Linked DNA regions of Homo sapiens: regions 2, 3, 4 and 5 are each linked to region 1. The links are contacts of gene promoters, found by promoter capture Hi-C in blood cells and fetal thymus (Javierre and others, 2016). All regions are on one chromosome and are shown on one strand. Each heading gives the region's core, a stretch centred on a gene start or on the middle of the fragment in contact. The rest is flanking DNA. Distances are from core to core; before and after follow the strand shown. Region 1 holds the start of ERP44 (endoplasmic reticulum protein 44). Region 2 has its middle 56 kb from the start of TGFBR1. Region 3 has its middle 23 kb from the start of SEC61B. Region 4 holds the start of LOC105376174 (a long non-coding RNA gene). Region 5 has its middle 18 kb from the start of ALG2.

Region 1 (5,138 bases), core at 992-3,491:
GAAGGAATAAACTTGAGGTCTGAGAGAGAAAGTTGGAAGAGTAGGAAAAAAGTACACGGGGGAACAAAGAGGACAAATTATTAGACAGCGAGAATACTGAGTAAGTAGGTTCCATCAGTAGGAGAGAATTACCAGTTAAGTAAGCAACTCAAAGTTGCGATTAGACAGGATAGATGTTTTATAAATATTTGCTAACTAGCATATGAGTATTAAAACTAGGTAAACACTGTATTCCAATTAAATCTAGTTTGACTTGTAATTCTAGTTTAAACCTTTTCTGGGGCTTTTTCAGCCTTTTCATATCTACAGGTATTCTCTAACATATTTTCCAGATTTTTATGCCTTTACATTTGCTTAGAAAGATAATTATACAAAATGCTTAGATTTTAGTTAAATCTAGATTCTATTTGGGAAAAAACTCATATTTAACAAGATTAGGTTTTTCTATAAAAAGCATGAGTTATTCCAAAATAAATTATTTCTTCTTCATAACTTAGCTTTACAACCAAACCATACCATTTGAGGAAAGTGCATCTGATATAGTTTGCCTGTTCAGTGTCTCAACTTTTCTTTACAATATCTTAAGATTTTTGCCCTTTTTTTTTGATTTCCTAAAAGTGCACACAATTCATAACTCAAGCCATTTTGTGGATAAGATTAGTATCCAGTCTTCTTAAGGAGAGAGTGGTCTCTAATAATGGTATTATTCTAACACTTCTAGAAGGAAAAATGTATCACAGTGTATAATGAAATCACCAAGAAACAACACTATACAGAATATTTTCCTCGATACAGAAGTCATTCACTGTTGTATACTTATAAGAAGTGGCAATAAGACACTCTATCATTTAATATTACAATGTTTATACACAACTTTTTGTTCTCAAAAGTACTTTGACATGCCATTTAGTTTTTTACAGTGCTTTTTCCGAAAAGGTCCAAGTGACAAAAGAAAAGAAAGAACTATTTCAAACACAAATATTAAACATTTAATGGGATATGGCGGAATAAGCACTGGAAGTCAAGAGACTTGTTTCTAATCCCAGCTCTGCCTGTAACTAGCTGTGTGACTTCATATGCGTCACTAAATCGTTTCTTAAATTGTAAAGAAAGTAGTTCTTAATGTTTAAATCTGAATTTCTAAAAATCTACTACAATTAAGGTACTTTCAAATATTACATTATAATTAACAGCCCAATTAAATATAAGCCATTTTGCCATACGTGTTTAGTCCTTCGCTTTTGTCTCAATTTGACCTGAAGCCTGGATCAATTAGTCTGCACACTCAAGACGTACTCTGGGGCAAGAGGGACTAGGGAAAGATTCTTTTAAGATGGGATGATGCTGAGCAGGTTAGGCAGTTAGGAATGAATGCATATTCAAATAAGGCGCAATGAAGAAGAAATCTGCTTCCATGGGGAAATACGTTGCAATAAGATTTGAGGGAGGCCTTGAGCTGAGATTGTCAGGTAACCACACCTTCCACCCTTCAAACTCTATTCTCCCAGTGGAATCCAAACCAGTCTCCAGTTCCGGGTTCCCAACCAATCGCATCAAGCCACAACAGAGGGATCTGCCAACCCGGGCACCGCTTCAGGGATCTAGACCCAGTGAGAGTCACACAACCCCAGCACCTGTCGACCTCACACTCTTCCCAAATGGAGAGGGTGGGAAGGAACGCTAGGTCTATGCTTGGTCTTTTCCGATTCAAGCTACCACCAGGTCCACTAGCCCTCGAAACCGAAACCCCCGGACTTCGGGGAGAAGGGGAAGCTCCTACGCCGTGACTACGTATCAGTCCCTCAGGGCTAATTCTCCCATTCTCCCCCGACACTGGTTTCTCAGGCCTCGGGGACTCCGCGCCTGGAAGCCGACAGGCGAGAGTGAGGGCAGCGGGGGAGGGTGCACTCCAAAACACTGCAGGAAAAGACGGAAAAGCAGGGGCAGGAGTAGCAGTGTTCCCCCTGGGCGAGGGCCGGAGGCCGTTCGTGCGTTTGTCGATGGGTCTGTCATTCCCTCACTCACCAGGAGCAGAAGGGAGCATCTGAGGTCGGGTAAGGATAGGAAGACGGCAGGATGCATGGTAACGCTGGGGTCCGTGACAGGGACAGGCGCTGGCGGCTGGGACTGGGCTAGGTTGGGTTGGGTTAGGAAAGGGCTGGGCTCCGGGAGCCGACGGCAGCGGAGGATTCTCCAGGCAGCGGCACCTCGTCCTCTCGACCCGGGCTCCAGCGGCGAACACCCGGGACAACTTCCAGAGAGGCCTCTCACACCCTCACTTCCGGGTCCTGCCCACCTCGGTGCACTTCGGGAAATGTAGTCCTGCACTAGCCTCACCCCGCACGTCGTCCGTCATCTAGAACTTCCTTTCCCATTGGGCTCTCGGCCCCGGTCCACTGAGTCCTCTGCGCGCGGGGTCCTGTGGGATAGAAGGGCGGAGGGCGGGTGTACGCGGTGCTTCAGAGGATGGGAACTACAATTCCCAGAAGGATGTGCGGCCGAAAGCCTCGGGCGGCCTTTTGAGGGGCTCGGCTAGCTTCAGCGCCGTGGGGTCTGACCTGGCTGGATATAGTGTACCGGCCCGGCAGGAGGGGCGGCCCGGTCCGGGTTGCGCCTCCTGGAGCCGCCCCCGGGACGTCAGTCCTGGAGGAGGCGAGGGTGAGTAGGAGGGGGCCTGGCTGGGGAGGCTCAGATCATTCGGTCCGCACCGCCTTGGCCCCTGCTGCAGACTCACGGCCTTCCTGGCCTAGGCTGTGGCCTGAGCCTCCATCATTGGCCTCCTCGCCCGCTGCCTCTTCTTTCTGCTCTAATTCCTGCATTATAAAGTCAGAGCCACCACTCGGGGCCTCAGTTGAATGAGTCAATGACTTATCCCTGATTGTCTCTGAGGGCTCCTGTAAGGAGTAGATGTGGTACGGGATGGGATAGCACGTCGTAAACTGGAAAACTGTGTGAGTGATTGCTGCTAAGGCGTGGATCGCTCCTCCAGTATAATTACGAAATTCCCTAGCAAAGCAGTCGAGGATCCTAACTTGGCCCCAGGTAGCTCTGCGGCTTCTTCTGCAAACACTCAGTGAGGTCCAGGAGCCCACGCGATCTCTGCTTAGTACCCAGGAGGCACACTGTGCTTTTGTGGTTCTCCCTGCTCCCGCCTTTGCTTCAGCTTTCCTGCTGCCTGGAATGGCCTTACCCGTTCTCTCTCTGGAATGCTATCTTAAATGTCACCATCTCTGAGAACTTCCCGAACAACCAACCCTTTAGTCCTAATCAGAATTACTCTTCCTATGAGTGTGACTGCAGTACCTCTAGTTTTGTACGGTTATAATTATTAGAGCATTTATTACACGGGCTTGTTGTATAATTAGGCAAGGATGATGACACCTTTGCATTTTATAGCACTTTATCAAAGTGGTTTTGACTTTTTTCTATAAAAAATGATTTATTTTCTTAAAGGGGCAAAAAATACATTTTTTCTTAAGAAAAAAAAAGAGCCCTGCATAATGGCTTTCTCAGGGTGACAAAATTAGACAGTGATAGAGCCAATACTCTTACCAAGGCGGCCTAACTCCTAGACTAGTGCTCCTATCTCTTGTCCACGCCCCTGACAGAGCCCAAAGATAGTTGAAATGGGAAATTTTAAAAGAGCAGAGACTTGTAAGTATGAACTCATTATTCAAGAAATTAAACTTTGATCCTGCTCACTTTTTGGACTTAGCACTCAGCCTGTGACCTTTCATCCAACAAACATCTACTGAGTACTGGCTATATACCTGTTACTGTGCTAAGTGCTAAGAATTATGAAGTAAAAAGTATATATATATAATATATATAATATATGTACATATAATATATATAATATATGTATATATAATATATATATTATATATGTATATATAATATATATATTATATATGTACATATAATATATATATTATATATGTACATATAATATATATATTATATGTACATATAATATATATATTATATGTACATATAATATATATAATATATGTATATATAATATATATTATATATATAATATATGTATATATAATATATATAATATATGTATATATAATATATATATAATATATGTATATATAATATATATATTATATATGTATATATAATATATATTATATATGTATATATATTATATGTATATATATAATATATATAATATATATACATATATATTATATATATAATATATATTATATATATAATATATATGTATATATAATATATATATTATATGTATATATATTATATATATTATATATGTGTATATATAATTTATATATGTATAATATATACACACACACACATATATATAAAACAGAGATCACATTTTTAGTGTATTTTTCAAAGGGTATAAAGAACTTTTTTTGTGGTTCTGATGTGCCTAAAACTCTGATCACTTAGAATGAAAAATGACAGGTCTTAGAGTTTAGAACAGTGCCTAGCACATAGTTGTCACTCAGCTTGTTGAATGAACGAATGTGAACATGGTCTAACCTTATTATTTTTTGCATTTTACAGAAACCTAGAAAGCTGACATAGCCTGAGGACACACTGCTGATTATAAATACAACTGGGCCTAGAACCCAAGTGCAGTTACTCCCCTCCCATGTTTTCACCTCCACCTCTATTTTGTAGCTTCTCTCAAATAACCTTAATATAATCCTGGATATGACAGTAGTTCTTCTGACATGACTGTTAGACTCAGACATGACTGAAGTGTCTCACAACACCCTCTTCCTCCATATTTTCTGCCAGTCCTTAACTCAAATTGTCAGCAAAATAAAGACGTAAGGAGCTGTGCTTTACCATAATTAAGAAAGTATTAATATGTTCTCTCAAGGGCAGAATTTGAACCAATAATCCTTGTCGATGACAAGACAAATACCAGCTCATCCGTTATAAATTTATCTTAGAAAACTCTCAGATCCCCAGGAGTAACAGCGATTGGCGTGACCTGCTTTTTGGTGAAATCAGAAAAGGACTTGCCTACCCTCATGGCAGCAATTAACTGGAGCTGATTAACAGCTGCTCCCTTTAGATAAGTACATATGCTTGAGTTTACCGTGATTCTGTGACTCCCTACGTTTCTAACAGTTGTTACCTCTCTGGTCCTT
Region 2 (4,806 bases), core at 2,242-4,741, 940 kb before region 1:
AGGTTGCAGAAAGGCACAAGGGAGCTTTTTCGGATGATGGGAATTGAGGCAGGAGAATAGGGTCTGGAGGCAGGGAACCTAAGGCTCTTTCACCCTGACTTCCTAGAACTAAATTGAAAGGAAAACCCTAACTTTCCACGCCTAAGTAAAAAAAGGACCAGAGGCTGCAGATGGGAAATCTGTCTGCAACAAATCAGACTGAGTACCAGTGGAGTCTTCGTTTGCAACTTTGTGACTTAGCTCCAGCCTCTGAATGGTTGCCGTCCACAATCAACCAGACTGATTGCAGGCTTAGTCAGTCTTCATTTGCACAGAAGTATAACTTTGTAACTTCACCGTAGCCTCTGATTGGTTGCCTTTACCAATCAGATGTTTGCACAGGAGTGTGACCTTTGTAACTTCAGCCTCTGGTTGGCTGCTTTCTGCAACCAATCAGACTGATTGAGGGCTACCACTTCATTTACATGAAGTATGCATGAAGTGGCCAATGGGAAACTTCTGGGGGGTATTTGGACCAAAGAAGATTCTGTATTGGGGGCTCTTGAGTAGCTGCTCAGGCTGCTCCCACACTGTGGAGTGTACTTTTGTTTTCAATACATCCCTGCTTTCCTTCTTTTGTTGCTTCATTCTTTCTTTGCTTTGCTGGGCGTTTTGTTCAACTCTGTTCAAAACGCCAGGAATCTGGACAACTTGCAGTTACGACCTTCTACTGGTGACAGAATGTTTCAAAGCTTGATTTTGGTGATGGATTCAGAACTCCGTAAATTTACTAAACATTGTGCACATGAAATGGGGAAATTTTATGGTGTGTAAACTATATCTCAATACGTCTGTTAAAGGAAAAAAAAGTAAAACTCGCCTTTGCCAGTTTTTGTTGTTGTTGTTTGTTTTTTGTTTTTTCTTTAAACAGGGACTCTCTGTCACCCAGGCTGGAGAGCAGTGGTGCGATCACAGCTCCGGGCAACCTCGACTTTCCCGGGTTCAAGTGATTCTCGCCCATCAGCATCTCGAGTAGCTGGGACTACAGGCACCAGCCAGCACCCCAGGCTAATTTTTGTATTTTTTAGTAGATACGGGGTTTCAGCGTGTAGCCCAGGCTAGTCTCGAACTCCTGAGCTCAGGTGATCCGTCCGCGTCAGCCTCCCAAAGTGCTGGGATTACAGGCGTGAGCCACTGCACCGGGTCTCACCTTACCATTCTTGCCACCCACCATACTTCCTTCATCTGTCCGCCATGCTGCATGTCCCGACGCACCCTGCTTCCTGCCTTTCTGCTAGGCTCCGCCCTTCGCTGGAACTGCATTTTTCCCTCTCCTCTGCCTTGCTAACTTGAATCAACCCCAAGGCTCAGGTCGGAAGGCATTTCCTCCACTATTGTTGCGCATCCTGCCTGCTGGCAAATCATTGATCCCCTGCTGCATTTCCAAATCACTTACCTCATTTCATTGCACATCGTTCCTGTTTTAATCCCCTTAGGGAGTTAGGACTCTTGCTCTCCCTCTCTTCCCTTGAGAGAAGCAGACGGTTTCTGTGTATTTTCCTGTCCAAGCACCTAACGTGAAAATTAACAAAATAGTTTGAGTGCTTATTTTTGGTGCTAACTCTGCTGGGTCCTTGGATGCTCCGGGAGTCTGGCATGTTTGGGGTGCTTTGTCAAAATTTTTAGGGGTCTTCCCTAAATGGCTCCCACCACACTCTGTTTCCAATGCCGCATCATTTCGTACACATGCCTCCCTCTAAGCCCTTGTATTAATTTTACGTCTCTGTGTTGTTCCAAGGCTTGCTGCTGCAACTAGCTATGAATGCCTGGAGAACAGGGACTCTGTCTGATTCATTTCTGTGAAGCTCTTGCCTAGTCCAGGGCTTGGCTCAGAGCACGCACTAAGAGGAGCTTGTTGAATGAACGAATATTCAATTAAAGGAATCCCAAATGAATATGAACCAATCTAACAGAATGTCGCTATGGAGATGGATATTTACTTCATCAATAAGGAGAGTCCTTCATCCTGGGGCTCCCCAAATGCAAGGCCTACAAGTTTTTTTATAAAGGGATTTCTTACTGCCCCACCAATTTCTGGCCTCCCCTTGCTATTCCGTTTATTTATTCCATCAACTACTTCCATTTTTTTTATTGGTTTATATTTTTCTCATATTTGATGGCATTCTTTTTAAAACAATGAGCTCTCCTTAGTCAGAACCCAGCACCTTTTAGTAAGATGGAAGTTTGGGATCTTCTGATTTGAATTACGTAAAGTGAAAGAATATTTTTACATTCTTGATACTTATTCTCAATTTTGCATTCTCTTTATGGCACATTGACTGTATAATAAATCCTGTACATATTATTCATCTCTTTATATTTCTTTTCTTGTACTGTTCTCCCAAATGAAAACCAGAATTCTTATTCACAGCAATTTAGACCAGCCCAGCTTATGAGCAGAGTGATACAGGTCATTTTGGAAGTCTTTCCAGCTCTATTATTTTGTGATTCTCATATAGTTCTTACTTTTTTTTTTAACCAATGATTGAATGAAATCTGTTTTGATCATATTGGGATGTTCATATTTTCAACCTTTATTCATTTGTTTATTCTCTCAAGTTCCTTTTTATGTGATTTTTAAAAACATTTCAACTTTTATTTTAGATTCAGGGTGTACATGTGCAGATTTTTTTACATGGTTATATTGCATGATGCTGAGGTTTGGGGTATGATTGATTCTGTCACTCAGGTAGTGAGCATAGACCCAATGCATAGTTTTTCAGCCCCTGTTCCCTCCTACCTGCCCCGTGCAGCAGTCCCCAGTGTCGGTTGTTCCCATTTTTGTGTCCATGTGTACCCCGTGTTTAGCTTATAAAGTGAGAACATGCCATATTTGGTTTTCTGTTTCTGTGTTAGTTCGCTTAGGTTAATGGCCTCCAGCTGCATCCATGTTGCTGCGAAGAACATGATTTTGGTTTTTTATGATCGTATAGTATTCCATGGTGTATATGTACCACATTTTCTTTATCCAATCCACCGTGGATGGGCACCTAGGTTGATTCCATGTCTTTGCTATTGTGAATAGTGCTGCAATAAACATGTGAGCATCTTTTTGATAGAACAATGTATTTTCCCTTGGGTATCTGAGTAATGGAACTGCTGGGTTGAATGGTAGTTCTGTTTTAAGCTCTTTGAGAAACCTCCAAACTGCTTTCCACAGTGGTGGAACTTTATATTTCCAGCAGCAGTGTGCAAGGATTCCCTTTTCTCTGCAGCCTCCCCACCATCTATTATTTTTTGACTTTTAATAAGAGCCATTCTGACTGGTGTGAGATGGTGTCTCATTGTCAACCTTTAAAAATGAACAAGAGTTTGGTTCATCAGATCGCATTGCCTATGTTTTTTGTTTGTTTATTTGTTTGTTTGTTTTTGAGACAGAGTTTCACTCTTTCACCCAGGCCAGAGTACAGTGGTGAGATCTCGGCTCACTGCAACTTCTGCCTTCCAGGTTAAAGTGATTCTCCTGCCTCAGCCTCCTGAGTAGCTGGGATTACAGGCGCCTGCCACCACGCCCGGCTAATTTTTGTATTTTTAGTAGAGATGGGGTTTCACCATGTTGGCCAGGCTGGTCTCGAACTCCTGACCTTGTGATCCGCCCGCCTCGGCCTCCTAAACTGCTGGGATTACAGGCGTGAGCCACCACGCCCGGCCACTGCCTACCTTTTTAAAGAATGTGTCCTAAGCATGGTTAAGTTTGATACAGACATTCGGTGCTTGCCAAATACAGGCTGAGTTTAGGATGGCTCACCAAATATATAGCTTGATTCCTCCTGGACTATCTCATGCCATGGCTATGTTTGAGTCATTCCAAAAGCCAGTCGAATGGGATCTGTGACTCTGGGTGGAAGGGGCCCTGCATAGTACTTAACATAGAGTGGGCATCAATAAGTATTTGGTTGAATACACGAGTGCATGCAGATAATCTAACTGTAATCTAACTTCCTCAGAAATGCTGATGTTCTTCTGTAACTTCCAGGATGGAGGGTCACAGTGCTTCTCTATTGACATATATTCAGTGAGCAGGGTGCCTTCACTGTTTTCACAGAACATTATCTTATTTTTGGAAAGTAACAATTAAAACATTCTTTCTAGCAGAGTGACATATGTTGGCCCATATCTCCTCCCCACTCGTCTGCCAGGGTCCCACACTCCCAGCCTTTGTCCTGTAGCACAGCAAGTAAGAAACTGAGACCAAGTCCCTTTGGGTAGGCTCTTTACTAGGCTGAACAGAGTCTGTTTCTTAAACTGTCACTCATACCTTCCCAAGCATCCCTCAGTATGCTCCTGATTCCTTACTTCTATGGCTAAGAATCCGTGTGCCTGGTGGAAGATAACCCAGATTTCAGGTCTGTGCAGATCTCAAAATATCTCAAAATCTGTTTAAAAATCACAATTTAAAAAAAACTCAACTTAGCCTGTTCTCCAATAAATCCTCAATAGGTGGCAGTGTTGATCTTTCTTTGGTCTCTGGTCTGCGGGAGTGTTTTGGTTTGTTTGTTTTGTTTTCATATTAGAAAAGAGTTGAGGTTTCTACCTAGTTTTAGATTGAGTTCTACTAAATGTAGTTCTCAATCAGACTATTTTTCTTGAGGCCATACCAAAATCAATGACTGTTTTTCTTGAGGCCTTACCAAAAGCAATATCTCCTACGCCAGCTAAAAATGTGGTAAATCTTCAAGCTAGTATTCTATTATTTAACATTTTTAATTATAACAATTATTCATGGTTGTAAAGTTTCAAAAGCTACAGAAGTGTAGAAAGTAAAAA
Region 3 (4,567 bases), core at 1,823-4,322, 850 kb before region 1:
CTATCATTTAGAAACTATATTTTGGCCCAACAGAGACCTGTATAATATGCCTTAAATGAGGTCTAAGGTTTTTCTCTCAGGTAAAAGAAGTCTTGAAGTAGGCATTTGGCTTGTCCATTTTGGGCTGCTATGATAGAATACCACAGACTGGTAATGTATAAACAATGGAAGTGTATTCCTCATAGTTCTGGAGGTGTTGAAGTCCAATATCAAGGCACTAGGAGGTTCGGTTTCATTGTCTGGTAAGACTGCATCCACTATAAGGGCAGGATGCTGCATGCTCATATGGCAGAAGAGGTGAAGAGCAAGCTAGCCAAATCCTGCTGTGTGAAGGCTTTTTAAAAATGACCTTAATTCCACTAACAAAGAAGAAGCCCTCATAACCTGACCACCTCTAAAAAGCCACACTAAATATATTACATTGGCAACGCCTGAATTTGAGGTGAGGGGACACATCCAAACCACAGAAGCATTCCAGGGCTGATGTGGTAATGCTACCATCTCATTAATGTCCTTATCTCCTCTTGTGTTTCTGTTTTGGTGTACTTAGCACAAGCTCACTGTCCTCAATCAAGGCCACCTCATACCTGCAGAGTGGCTGCCGCAGCACCAGTTATTACATCCATATTTCGGGTAGAGGAAGAAGGAAGGTCAACAAGAGACCTGCCAACAGAGTCAGCCACTTTTTTAGGGAGCATTTCCAATCCTACACAATAGTTTCTTCATTCCATTAGCCTGAAGGTAGTCACATGACCGCTCTTATCTAGAAGGGAGGATAAGAAATCTAATTTTTTAGTGGGGACACATTTCTGCTCACCAAAAAGTCAGGGCCCTAAAGAATATATTTTGGATAGGCCAACAGCAGTGTTTGCCGCAACCCTCAATTCAGCTCTGGATGTATCTTTGCATAGCCAGGGATGCATTTTTTAATTAAAACTAAGAGGCCATGCCATTGCTGAAGGGTGGGGAACTGGAGCAGAAGAAATGTCTCTGTCCTTCATCTGCTGTCTTCACTAACAGTCTCTGAAAGTGGAAGGGGCAGTAAAGAAATTTACTTTCCCACTGTTGTGAAATTTACCACCCTCCTTATAAGGCAGAAGTGGTTACAGTTGCTTTTTATTTTCCTGTTACTATACCCAAGGATTGTTGTGAGAATCAGAAGACAGATATGAGAAATCATGTTGTGAACTATAAAATGCTATTAAATGACAGAAATGATTGTTTGTCATTATTATGAGTGTTGTCATGTCTCCCAAAGCTGCCTGCTCAGTTGAAGAAAAGTGTTTTCTGATAGAGAGTAAGACTGAGAACCAAAGAGAAAAGGAGAGAGGGAGATAGAGAGAGGAGGGGGAAGAAGAGCGATAGAGAAAGAAAAAGAGAAAGAGAGAAAGACAGAGAAAGGAAATAGACTGATAAGGAAGGGTGGGAGGAGAGAGAGGGACAGAGAGAAAGGAAATAGAGTGAGGAGAAGGGGAGAAGGAGAGAGAAGGGGAAGGGAGACTGGGAAGAAGGAAGGGAGGGAGAGAGAGAGGGACAGAGAGAAGAGGGGAAAAGAAAGAGGGGAGAGAGGAGAAAAGACAGAAGGGAAGAGCGTGGAGGTCTTTTTTCTATCAAAAGCAGAACAGAAATACATTGACATAATTGAAACCCATGACTGACCACAAGCATACATACAACTCTGGTAGACAGCTTCAAGGTACTTAGGTTTCTCTGACCATTTAAAAGTATCTTCCTCATTTCCAAAGCGGTATATGCATACTGAAGACTATGAGAAACATATGAAAAGGCACAGGGGAGTTTTTTTTTAACTGCTTTGTTGATGTATAGCTGACATAGAATAAACTGCACATATTTAAAGAGTATAACTTGATACATTTTAATGAAAGTATACACTGCAAAACCATCATTATAATCAACGTATCTATCATCCCCAACAGTTTCCCTGGGCTCCTTTGAAAGCCCTGCCCCCGGGCACCCACTGGTCTGCTTTCTCCCACTCTAGGTTAGGTTGCATTTTCTGGAAATTTATACAAATGGAATATCAAATTCCATATATAATGTATGTAATCTTTTTTTTGGCCTGGCTTTTTTCATATAGCAGTATAATAATTAATGATATAGACCCAGCAGAGTTTGAGATATTCAATTAATTCATTAATTGAATTAATTCAGATATTCAGGTATTGAGATTAGTTAATATTGTCATATTTGCTTCAGCTTTCCTCGTTTTTTTGAGTAATGTGATCTATACGAAGAGAAAATGTTTTTAAAAAATACATCTTAATGCATTGTAATTACACAAATTACATTATAATTAAGGAAACCCCTGTGTAACCACCACTCAGGCCAGGAAAGGGAGCTTTGCAAGCACCCCTAACCTCCCAGTGTCCCCTCCCCAGGTCATCACCAGCCTCCCTTTTGTGAGAATCATTTTCTTGCTTTTCTTTTTGATTTTACGATGTATGTATGCATCGCAGTATGATAGAGTGGACTTAGCTGTTTGTGAATTTTATATGAATGAAATCACACTGTATGTCTTCTTCGTGACTTGCATTTTTTGCTTTGTTTGTGAGATTCACCCCTGTTGTACCATGTAGCTATGTTTTATTCATTTTAATAGCTATAGAGTATTCCGTTGTATAAATATACTGCAGTGTGGCATAGCCCACTCTGGAGAGAGAGCTTTTAAATGTGATCAATACAGTTTGGCTTTTCGTTAACACTTGTAGCCATCAGACAGTCCTTACAGGATAGAAACAACGAAAACATCTACCCTTCCCCTGGATGCCAGTACCCCCGCCCCACCCTACTGTGTGTCCACAAAAAGTTAATACTATAAATATTTACAGATGTCAATCATAAGTATTTATAGGAATATCTTCTGCCCTGGTATAGTCTTCTTTTTGAAGAAGCAAGCACACAGTTGATTTTTTTCAAAAATCAAAAACTTTTTTTTGTTTTTTCGAGACGTAGTCTCGCTCTGTCGCCCAGGCTTGAGTGCCGTGTCGTGATCTCCGCTCACTGCAAGCTCCGCCTCCCGGGTTCACGCCATTCCCCTGCCTCAGCCTCCTAAGTAGCTGGGACTACAGGCGCCCGTCACTACGCCCGGCTAATTTTTAAAATATTTTTAGTAGAGACGGGGTTTCACCATGTAAGCCAGGATGGGAACTTTTTTTTTTTTTTTTGCATCATGTCGGTCTGAACACAGCTAGTTAAATTTTCTGTGGGAAACAGGAAAAAGAGGAAGAGGTTGGACATTCCCTTTCAAGAGGCTGCTCTTCCACTTCCACTGTTTTTCTCAGGCCCTCAATCCAGAGGTTCCTAGACGCCATTATTCACATTCTTCTTTAAAAGATGCTCTCACAGCATAAGAAGTCAAAACCTAGCTCTCAACCCCATCAAAAAGTGGGCAAAGGACATGAACAGACACTTCTCAAAAGAAGACATTTGTGCAGCCAAAAAACACATGAAAAAATGCTCACCATCACTGGCCATCAGAGAAATGCAAATCAAAACCACAATGAGACACCATCTCACACCAGTTAGAATGGCAATCATTAAAAAGTCAGGAAACAACAGGTGCTGGAGAGGATGTGGAGAAATAGGAACACTTTTACACTGTTGGTGGGACTGTAAACTAGTTCAACCTTTGTGGAAGTCAGTGTGGCGATTCCTCAGGGATCTAGAACTAGAAATACCATTTGACCCAGCCATCCCATTACTGGGTATATACCCAAAGGACTATAAATCATGCTGCTATAAAGACACATGCACACGTATGTTTATTGCGTCACTATTCACAATAGCAAAGACTTGGAACCAACCCAAATGTCCAACAATGATAGACTGGATTAAGAAAATGTGGCACATATACACCATGGAATACTATGCAGCCATAAAAAATGATGAGTTCATGTCCTTTGTAGGGACATGGATGAAATTGGAAATCATCATTCTCAGTAAACTATCGCAAGAACAAAAAACCAAACACCGCATATTCTCACTCATAGGTGGGAATTGACCAATGAGAACACATGGACACAGGAAGGGGAACATCACACTCTGGGGACTGTTGTGGGGTGGGGGGAGGAGGGAGGGATAGCATTAGGTGATATACCTAATGTAAATGACAAGTTAATGGGTGCAGCACACCAGCATGGCACATGTATACATATGTAACTAACCTGCACATTGTGCATATGTACCCTAAAACTTAAAGTATAATAATAAAAAAAAGTTTATTTCTAAAAAAAAATAAAAAATAAAAAAAACCTAGCTCTATGTTTCTTCATATAGAAGAAGCATTATAATAAAAGTAATTTAAGTCAGTGCTTGCTGTCTGACTTTTATTTTTCAAAAGGGTTCAGTGTATTATTCAAATGTCAAGAATAATGATTTTGACCTTGGCCTGCGGGCAGGTGGACCACACTGTCTCTCCCCAGCCCTTTCTTCAGAATCTCTGTTAATTCTATAACACCTTCCGTGTCTGCTGTCATTGTGGTTTACAGGCACCTTGTCACATGGTGAATAATTGGATCGCCATTCAGTGAAGTAGAGAAATAATTTT
Region 4 (4,856 bases), core at 475-2,974, 910 kb before region 1:
CAGAGATTCAAAGGTTGAGCAGACATTGGCCACAGTCCCGGCTGGCTCCGACCGTGGCAGAGGCTGAACCAGAGCAGAGGAGGAAGCAGAGGGGTGGGCCGCAAGCTCTTCTTGGAGTCTCAGGAGCTGCAGAGAGCAAGCTGGGCTTCCTGGAGGAGGAGGCGTGAGAGTTGGGCCTTGAAGTAAGGTTTCAGTGAAAGCGGAGGTGCGGGGTGGGTGGGGTGGGTGTTGAGGGGGTGTGAACACTCATGCGCGGCCTCATGAGCACTGGAGCAGCGCTGGCGGCTAGTGATTTTTCAGACAAATGCCTGCCAAAGCCTCTGACATAAATCAATTTTTCACTTCATTCCTTCTGACTCAACCCCTCCGTCAGGCACTCAGCAGCTGTTTCCTGAGCTGATGTACATCTCATTAGTCTATCAAGCTCCAACAGCCAAGGCCAAGGCCCCCAGAATGAAAAACTGACGCAGCCACCCCTTCCTGTGCCAGAGACAGGAGAAGGGAGGGAGACTGACGGCCTTTGTTCTCTGAGCAAGACCGTAAAGCACTTCGCCTACAGGCCACAAGAGGGCGATGGTGGTCCACACATAAGATCTTCCCAAAGAGCCAGCCAAAAACGCCTGCCTGGAGAATCTGGAGGTTGTGAAAGGTGACTTTGTTAAGGAAGGGCGATGGCCCTTCTCCCTGCCCCAGAGCTCTGAAAGCCTTTAAAGTGGCTTTAGCAGCGTGGTTTAAGAATGGCTCCTTCGGTACAAGGACGGCCATCACTGCTTCTCCTACTGTGTTTGATGCCAGCGTTCTTCCCGTCTGCAGGGAAGGACGGAGAGTGAGGAGGGCACACAGGACGTAGCTGGCTCCTGGCCATGGACGGTGACCGCTCTGGGGCCAGCAGGGTAGAGCTGCCTTCCTACATCTGAGAACTCAAGGGCGAGAGGGAGGCAGGGCAGGGGAGAGGGTTGGTCTCAGTTCACAGGGCGACCCTCTGGCCCTGGTTCTGACGGCGACTCGCTGTGTAAGCTAAGGAGTGTCTCGCTCTGTACAGCGGGCAGGTGGTGGGTCTCTGCACGTCCAGCATCTCCAGCTTTCCGTCCTCTGAGCTGTTTTGACATGGGAGGCGCTGGCAGGGAGAGAGGGGTCACTGATGTGGGAAGCTGGTGCAGAGCTGGGGAGTAGCTTGTGATGCTGGAGAACCTGGAGATGCCCCTCCCATTCCTTGGGCCTCGACTGTCTCATCTGTGGAATGGGCGGGTCAGACTGGATAATCTCTAACCATTGCTTCCCTTCACTTCTGTCCCAATAAACACACACGGAGCTTTTTCGTTTGTCTTTTGTCTTTTTTTTTTTTTTTTTTTTTTTTTTAGAGACGAGGTCTCACTATGTTGTTCCCCAGGTCTGAGTACAGTGGCTGATCCCACTATTGTCCAGCACAGGAGCTCTGACTTGCTCCATTTCCTACCTGGGCCTGCTCACCCTCCCTTAGGCAACCCGGTGGTCCCCCTCTCCAGAGAGGCCACCATATTAATGCCAAACTTAGCGCAGACACCTGATCGGCATAGTGCACTAAAGCCCAGAACTCCTGGGCCCAAGTGATCCTCCTGCCTTCTGAGTAGCTGGGATGACAGGTGGGTGCCACCACTGTGCCTGGCACAGAGCCTATATTGGTGCTAATACTTCTGATTCTGATTCCATTAAAAAACAAAATAAAACATGTTGCCCTTTGGCTGTTTCTGACCTCCATAGTGCCCCCAAAGTGTCCCAACTGGATAGTGGTTGGAGACCATTACTGTGAATGCACATGTGGCCCTTCTCCACACAGTGCATCTGAGGGAAAATGACAGAACACTCAATCCAATTAGAGGAGGCCAGCACAGGCTGGCAGTGAGGAGCAGGCACGAGGCTGCGTTCCCTGTGCTGGCTCCTGGGCCCATATGCTAAGCTCTGCCTTCAGTTCCTGCAGGAGCTGTCCCTTGTTCAGCCTCAGATGTCCTAGCCTCCAGCCGATGGAGGCTGTGTTAGCTCTATGGTGGCACATGGGCCTTTTGTGGCTCCCATGGCGCATTAATACTTTATGTGGCCCATATTTCTTCAGCTGCATCTTCCAACGCTCCCATTGATTTTTAAATTTCAGTGCAAATACAAAGCAAAACTGAAGTTTATGGAGTGTAGGAGAATCCATCTGAAAATTCCCTAGGGTGGCACCAGAGATTGTAACATTAGATGCACTAAGAAAGAAACAACTGCAGCACATTGCTTGGCTCTGCAGTAAATAATATTTATATAGTCATAGAATTGCAGAGCATAAGAGAGCTGATTATGGTTACTGAAATGTATGGGAGAGTTAGCAAACCTAACAAAAAATAAAAAAAGGTTTGGGGTGGGGAAAAGTAGAACTGAAAGAAGTCAGGAACCAAAGCTGGAGGAAAGATAGAAGGCAAAGAAGCTGCTAGTAACAGTAACAATTGCATCTTACAAAATGAGGAGTCCGGAAATGATGCCTAACATTGATAGAACAAGAAAAAGAGGTTTAACTATTTTATGTCTAGCTGCAAAGGTAACTATGTTAGTCATTAGTGCCACTTGCCAAGATATTTCTGGTTCTCCTTTGTTCTGGATAATTCCTGACCCTCTCTGGTTAGATGGGGCCATGAGATTAGTTCTGGTAACTGAGTTGTGAACCAAAGTGATGGGAATCACTTCCAGGGCTAGCATTTCATTACCAGTGGGATCAATCTTTCTTCTAGAAGGCGACTGGCATTATGTGAGATGGTGGCTCTTCCATCAGCCTTGGGTTTTGAATAATTACAGTGTACAGATTATGCCTCTTCCTGTCCCCCATGGACCTGTAATAGACAAGTCCCATGAGTGAGAAACAAACCTTTCTTGATAGAAGCCATTGGGATTTGGGGTTGTCTGTCATTGCAGCATTACCTGCTGTATCCTGAACTAGCACATAATATAACTTTACTAAAAGGACAGGAGAGGAAGTGGTCGGGGTTATAGGCGAGCTAAGTCTTCAACTATTAGAACATAAAATAAATAGGTAATACAGAATTGTTAATCCAAGAAATAGCAAAATTAACATATTATTTGAGATGTAAAATTGTCTAAAGTGGTTACCACTGGGGAGGGGGACTAGGGATGGAACAAAGGAATTTTGCTTTGTCATAAACCCTTCTCTAGTATTTGGCTTTTGAAATTAAAGTTTGTTAGTTTTTGAAATAGACTAAGTAGGTACAAAAGAGGATACAGGAAGTCAGTCTATTTCTCACTTCTGTTTTCCAATTTGGAGGCAACGCCTTGCCAGTTTCTTAGGTATTCTTACAGGAGCAGTCTAAGAATACAAAAACATAAACAGGCTTACATGCCTTTACTTTCAAGTAGCATTGTATCTTGGACATCATTCCTAACCACTTATTTAAAGCTGCTTTTGCTTAAAAATAGCGGGATAGTATCCCATCGTATGGGTATACTATCACTTAGCTGGTCCGCTATTATGCGACATTTGTTTCTCATTTTTAATGTTATTAACAATGCTCTGTGAATATCTTTGTAAGATGTCATGTTACGCATGGATGAGCCTATCAAAAGGCTAACATCCTGAAAGTGAAATTCCTGGGTATGTGTATAATACATACACCTTTTGAGAAAGTGTACAAACTGCCTACACAAGTTGTATCAATGTTCATTCCCACCAGTACTGGAGAAAGTACCCTGAGCTAGTGTCTCACCTATAAGGTCTATTGATTTGATTTTAATAGGAGTTAAAGTGGTGGGGATTTATTTTCTAAATTACTTCCTGAATTATCCATTGAAATGAATGAAAACAAGACTGTAATACTGCACTGGCATGAAGAGTTTTAAATTAAATCTCACATTCTTCAAATCTCTTTGGCGCTCACTCTTTGCTTCATTTACCCAGCAAATATTGGTTGAGTACCTTCTATGGTCAGGGCTGCTAAACACAGTGAGTGGATGGGTGGACGGACAGATAACCAAACTGTATTTCAGATCTATAGCTCCAGTAAAGGAACTAATGCAGACAAATACTAGGGATTCTGAATATTCTTTCTTTTCTAAAAAATTTTATACCTACACATACATCTACATATCTGTATCTCTCAATGATTCTTTCTCGGTTTCTCCATCATTGAGTGTAGAGTTGTAGAAGCAATGACTTAGTTTGAGAGTAAAACTGTGAAATCATAGCATTTGCAGCTCATTCCCATTCTCTCCAACTTCTTCCACCACTCATAACTGTGACTGCCTCTCTCCCATTCCCCCCAGGATCTCATTTTTTCCACCTCCCTCCTCTTGGCTTCCAACAGGCACAGATCTTCCCAGTTTTCAGATGAGGCTTCCTTTGCCACTGTGCTTATATCAGGACAATCCAACCACCCTATTCCCTGGCTGTGACATCAGCACAAGCCCCCTCGTCCACAACCCAGTCTCCTTTCTGAAAGGAAGACTGGATCCCATCACTCTCTTACCTAAATATATTGGTGGTACCTGTTTGCCTTTCATAAAGCATGGCATCAATGCCCCGAGGCTCTCACTGCTTCTGTGCCAGGCTCGTTGCTAAGTGCTAGGTGCACATACTATTCCATTTCACCCTCCTGACCACTTTCAGAGGGGGGTCATAATATTACCCACCTTGTACAGGTAGGAGCACTGGGGCACTAACGTGACTGAGGACCAAGGACACCTAGCTAGGAAAGGAAGGTGCAGGAATTTGAGTCCTGTTTTCAAAGACTGCCCCTAATCACAACACGATGGCACCATATTGTTTTGATAAGCTTTCTGAGATTACTCCCAAGGGGCAGAATTCAAGGGTCCTACACCTTTGCTTCCAGGTTCCC
Region 5 (4,901 bases), core at 11-2,510, 900 kb before region 1:
CATCCCAGACAACAAGGCATCTCACCCAAACAGACGCATTTGCAGGAACAGCCAGCACACCGGCCAGATTTGAATTGCTAATGTATAATCTGCCCGGCACAGATGTGCAATGAATATTTGGATGTTGTTTTGCCCGTCAGTTGAGGAGGATGAATTGATGAGGTGATGAGTATTCAATGATGGGTCCTGGATGTTGGCCAACAGCAGAGGTTGAGCACTTGCATGGATGATCATCAGATTACCCCCCAAAGTGCCTGTGCCATAATTCAGCAGCAAATTCTAGGACAGTCTAGCAGAGTGTACTTCTGGTTGGTGGAAAGTTCCCTTTCTTTTCTGGTACAATTAGATGTTTCGCTGTGTTTTTCAGGCTTAGGAAAGATATAGAAGTTGCCTTTATTGCCCTTCCCTGCCAACTCTTAAGGATATGAATAATGGTTCAGGAGCTAACTACTTGGGTTTCAATTTAGCTTCAGCATTTTCTAGCTCATTTTCTTAAGTTATTTGTGCCTCTGTTTCCTCATTTGTTAAAACAGATTGAAAAATTCTACCACCCATCTAGAACTATTGTGAGGATTAAATCAGATAATGTACACAGACTAAGTGCTAGAACAGTGCCTAGTGCATAGTACATGCTGAAAAGATGTTACCTGTTACTGTATTGTTGGTCATTTGCTTTCTCTCAGTATTACTGTGGTCAAGTAGCTTGGATACACTGGAAATAAAATTAATCCATTTTCATTACCTCAGGAGAGCTCATGGCCTATAGTATGCTACTTTCCCTGGTACATTTCTGATAGAAAATGTACCTTTCCTATAGGAATGGAAGTTTTCCTATAGTTATATAACCATGGAGCCCTTTTTCCTGAAGCATTTTTTACAGCTTATTTTCCTTGGAACATATTATAGGAAAAGCAGCTCTAGAAGGTAAACATTTACAAAGTTTTGAAAGAAAAACATGTGACTCAAGAATTTTATATATAATCAAGCTATTTATATGCAAGACAATGGGAATTATACAAATGCATATATTCTCTCTGAAAAAATGTTATTCAAAGATGTGTTCCATAGAAAGGGAACAATGAATCTAAGGTAGAAACCAGTGAGACCAGTTGATTGTACTGAAGTAAGTCCAAACAACTGCGGCAAATATATTATCAAACTTGAAATAAAAAAATTAAAATATTTGAAAGAAATTATTTATATTGAAATAATGGGATAATGAAATACATCAATGAATAGCAGAAGAATGAAGAAAATCAGAAGGGAAAGCAAGTGTCCTTTTTAAGAAAAAAAAGGATGGTACAAAGAATATATACACATATACACATATATATTATGTATATATGTATTACACTTGTGTGTGTAGATACATACAGTGTACACATATACAGGTGTGTATATATGTGTGTGTACATATATACAGGTCTGTATATATGTGTATATATATGTGTGTGTGAGTATATATGTGTGTATATATATGTGTGTGTGTATATACACACACAGGTGTAATAAGAGCAACCTCAGTAATCTTTAATAAAATATTAAAAACCAATACTATAAGAAAAAACACTAAATCTAAGATTTCTCTATTTATTAGACAAACCAAAAAATATTCAAAATTAAAATATGGGTAAAATATGATTATTTAACGTGAACAAAGAGAAAGTCAGGTCTGAGGATATTAGTATTGAACAATGCAGAATTATGTAAGTCAAAGAGTATTAAACTGCTAATTTCATTTCTTTATCTTCAGTGCTATGCACAGGGTAGGTCCTAAATATATATGAGTAAGATTTATTGTGGAAGTAGAAGCAACGAGTGAAAGGTATGTGAGAAGGCATGATTTGCCTGCAAGGACCTCTTGAGGGTAAGTTTAAAAATAAATTTATTGACACACAATATTTGTACATATTGACAGTGTAACATGACATTTTGTTGCATGCATACAATGTGTAATGATCAAGTCAGGGTATTTGGGGTATTCACCATCTTGAGTATTTACCATTTCTTGGTGTTGGGAACATTTCAGGTTATCTTCTAGCTAATTTGAAATATACAATACATTGTTGTTAACTATAATCACCCTACTCTGCTATTGAACATTAGAACTTATTTCTTCAATCTAACTGTATATTTGTATCCATTAACCAACCTCTCTTCAACCCTCCGACCCCCTCCCAGCCTCTGGTAACTATTTTTCTACTTTATCTCCATGAGATCAATTTTCTTTTCTTTTCTTTTCTTTTTTTTTTTTTTGAGACCGAGTCTCGCTCTGTTGCCCAGGCTGGAGTGCAATGGCAGGATCTCGGCTCACTGCAACCTCCGCCTCCTGGGTTCAAGCGATTCTCTTGCCTCAGCCTCCTGAGCAGCTGGGATTATAGGCACCCGCCACCACGCCCGGCTAATTTTTTTGTATTTTTAGTAGAGACGGGGTTTCACCATGTTGGACAGGCTGGTCTCAAACTCGTGACCTCAGGTGATCCACCCACCTCGACCGCCCAAAGTGCTGTGATTACAGGTGTGAGCCAGCCCACCCAGCTGAGATCAACTTTTTTAGTGCCCACATATAAGTGAGAACGTATTTGTCTGTCTATGCCTGGCTTATTTCACCTAACATAATGACTTCCAGTTCCATCCATGTTGCTGCAAATGACAGGACTTCATGCTTTTTTATGGCTGAATAGTATGTCATTTTGAATATATACACCACATTTTCTTCATCCATTCATCTGTTAATGGACATGTTTCAAAGACTTCATATCTTTGCTATTATGGATAGTTCTGCAATAAACAAGGGGGTGCATGTATTCCTTTGACATACTGAGTTCCTTTCCTTTATTTATTTATTTATTTTTGGGGGGACAGAGTCTTGATCTGTTGCCCAGGCTGGAGTGCAGTTGAGCCATCTTGGCTCACTGCAACCTCCACCTCCTGGGTTCAAGTGATTCTCCTGTCTCAGCCTCCGGAGTAGCTGGGACTATAGGTGCATGCCACCAAGCCCAGCTAACTTTTTTATTTTTAGTTGAGACGGGGTTTCACCATGTTGGTCAGGCTGGTCTCGAACTCCTGACCTCAGGTGATCCACCGGCCTCAGCCTCCCAAAGTGCTGGGATTACAGGCATGAGCCACTGAGCCTGGCCCAGATTTCCTTTCCTTTGGATAAATAGCCAGTAGTGGGATTGCTGGATTGTATGGTATCTCTATTTTTATTTTTATTATTATTTTAAAAAATCTCCATACTGTTTTCCATAATACTTGTACTAATTTATATTCCCACCAACAGTGTATGAGTTCCCTTACTCTGCATCCTCGCCGGCATCTACTTTTTTTTCTTTCTTTTTCTGTTTTTTTTTGTTTGTTTGTTTTGTTTTTTGAGATGGAGTCTTGCTCTCGTTGCCCCGGCTGGAGTGCAATGGCAGGATCTCGGCTCACTGCAACCTCTGCCTCTTCAGTTCAAGTGATTCTCCTGCTTTGGCTTACCGAGTAGCTGGGATTACAGGTGCCTGCCACCATGCCTGGATAATTTTTGTATTTTTGGTAGAGATAGGGTTTCGCCATGTTGGCCAGGCTGGTCTTGAACTCCTGACCTGGTGATCCACCTGCCTCGGCCTCAAAAAGTGCTGGGATTACAGGTGTGAGCCACCACGCCTGGCCAATTTTTTTTTTCTTTTTGTCTTTTTAGTAACAGTCATTCTAAATGAGGTAAAATGTTGAAGTGCTCAACATCACTAATGAGCTATGATTAGTGATATTGAGCGTATTTTTATATACCTGTTGGCTATTTGTATGTCTTTTGGGAAATGTCGGATTTTTTTTTTTTTTTTTTTACTGTTGAGTTGTTTGAGTTCCTTGTATATTCTGGATATTAGTCCCTTGTCAGATGAGTAGTTTCCAAATATGTTCCCCTATTTTAACAGGTTGTCTCTTCATTCTGTTGTTTTCGTTGCTGTGCAGAAGCTTTTTAGTTTAATATAGTCCCATTTGTCTGTTTTTTGTTGTTGTTGTTGCCTACTCTTTTGATATCTTAGCTATAAAATCTTTGCCTAGACCAATGTCCTCAAGTGTTTCCCCTATGTTTTCTTCCAGTAGTTTCACAGTCTCAAGTTTTAGATTTAAGTCTTTAATCAATTTTCAGTGGATTTTGTATATGGTGAGACACAGGAGTCTAGTTTCATCCTTCTGAATAGGAATATCGAGTTTTCACAGCACCATTTATTGAAGGGGGCGTCCTTTTCCCAATGTATGTTCTTTGTGCCTTTGTCAAAAATCAATTTGCTGTAAGTATGTGGATTTATTTCTTGGTTCTCTATTCTGTTCCACTAATCTATGTGTCTGTTTTTAATACCAATACTCAGCTGTTTTGGTTACTATAGCCCTATAATGTATTGCATTGGGGGTTGCACTGTAAGGAACTGCATTACATGTGTTGATTGCTTTGAGTAGTGTGGTCATTTCAGCAATATTAATTCTTCCAATCTATGAGCATGGAACATCTTTCCATTTGTTTGTGTCCTCTTCAATTTATTTCATCAGTGTTTTGCTGGATACATTTATTCTTAGGTATTTTATATATTTTTGGTAGCTATTGTAAATGGGATTGGATTCTTGATTTCTTTTTCTGCTAGTTCACTATGGGTATATAGAAAAACTACTGATTTTCTATGTTGATTTTACATCCTGAAAATTTACTGATTTTGTTTATCAGATCTGAGGGTTTTTTTTTTTTTTTTTGGTGGAGTCTAGGTTTTTCTACATATAAGATCACATCGTCTGCAAAGAAAAACAGGCCAGGCACAGTGGCTCACATCTGTAATCTCAGCACTTTGGGAGGCTGAGGGAGGACTGCTTGGGTCCAGGAGTTCGAGACCAGCCTGGGCAACATTGGGAGATCCCATCTCTAC

The links. The method cuts DNA at HindIII sites, captures the fragments that hold promoters and counts their contacts. A CHiCAGO score of 5 or more calls a contact.
Region 2: a contact is called between a fragment that was not itself captured here and the fragment with the promoter of ERP44 in region 1, in 1 of 17 cell types (fetal thymus). The highest score is 7.6, in fetal thymus.
Region 3: a fragment that was not itself captured here is called in contact with the fragment with the promoter of ERP44 in region 1 in 2 of 17 cell types (M1 macrophages and M2 macrophages); the score reaches 5.8 in M1 macrophages.
Region 4: a fragment that was not itself captured here is called in contact with the fragment with the promoter of ERP44 in region 1 in 1 of 17 cell types (monocytes); the score reaches 5.8 in monocytes.
Region 5: a fragment that was not itself captured here is called in contact with the fragment with the promoter of ERP44 in region 1 in 1 of 17 cell types (M2 macrophages); the score reaches 5.6 in M2 macrophages.

What each region holds. Positions count from the first base shown.
Region 1 is chr9:100,096,759-100,101,896 of GRCh38, forward strand. ERP44 (endoplasmic reticulum protein 44) reads right to left here and starts at 2,242. Exons shown (of 12, transcript NM_015051.3): 1 at 2,026-2,242. The coding sequence starts at 2,082. INVS (inversin) reads left to right here and starts at 2,485. Exons shown (of 17, transcript NM_014425.5): 1 at 2,485-2,658. RefSeq lists enhancers at 2,089-2,158, 2,169-2,308 and a silencer at 2,549-2,758. The HindIII fragment of the contact is 16,824 bases long and covers 1-5,138 here.
Region 2 is chr9:99,158,507-99,163,312 of GRCh38, forward strand. No RefSeq gene overlaps it. Among named protein-coding and RNA genes, the nearest start is that of TGFBR1, 56 kb to the left of the region's middle. The HindIII fragment of the contact is 5,524 bases long and covers 730-4,806 here.
Region 3 is chr9:99,243,437-99,248,003 of GRCh38, forward strand. No RefSeq gene overlaps it. Among named protein-coding and RNA genes, the nearest start is that of SEC61B, 23 kb to the left of the region's middle. The HindIII fragment of the contact is 6,907 bases long and covers 1-4,567 here.
Region 4 is chr9:99,184,221-99,189,076 of GRCh38, forward strand. It overlaps LOC105376174 (a long non-coding RNA gene), which reads left to right and starts at 103. Exons shown (of 2, transcript XR_930169.3): 1 at 103-182; 2 at 374-1,316. It also overlaps the pseudogene RN7SL794P. RefSeq lists an enhancer at 482-691 and a silencer at 3,236-3,355. The HindIII fragment of the contact is 6,133 bases long and covers 1-4,791 here.
Region 5 is chr9:99,201,682-99,206,582 of GRCh38, forward strand. No RefSeq gene overlaps it. Among named protein-coding and RNA genes, the nearest start is that of ALG2, 18 kb to the right of the region's middle. RefSeq lists an enhancer at 1,585-1,754. The HindIII fragment of the contact is 5,389 bases long and covers 1-3,955 here.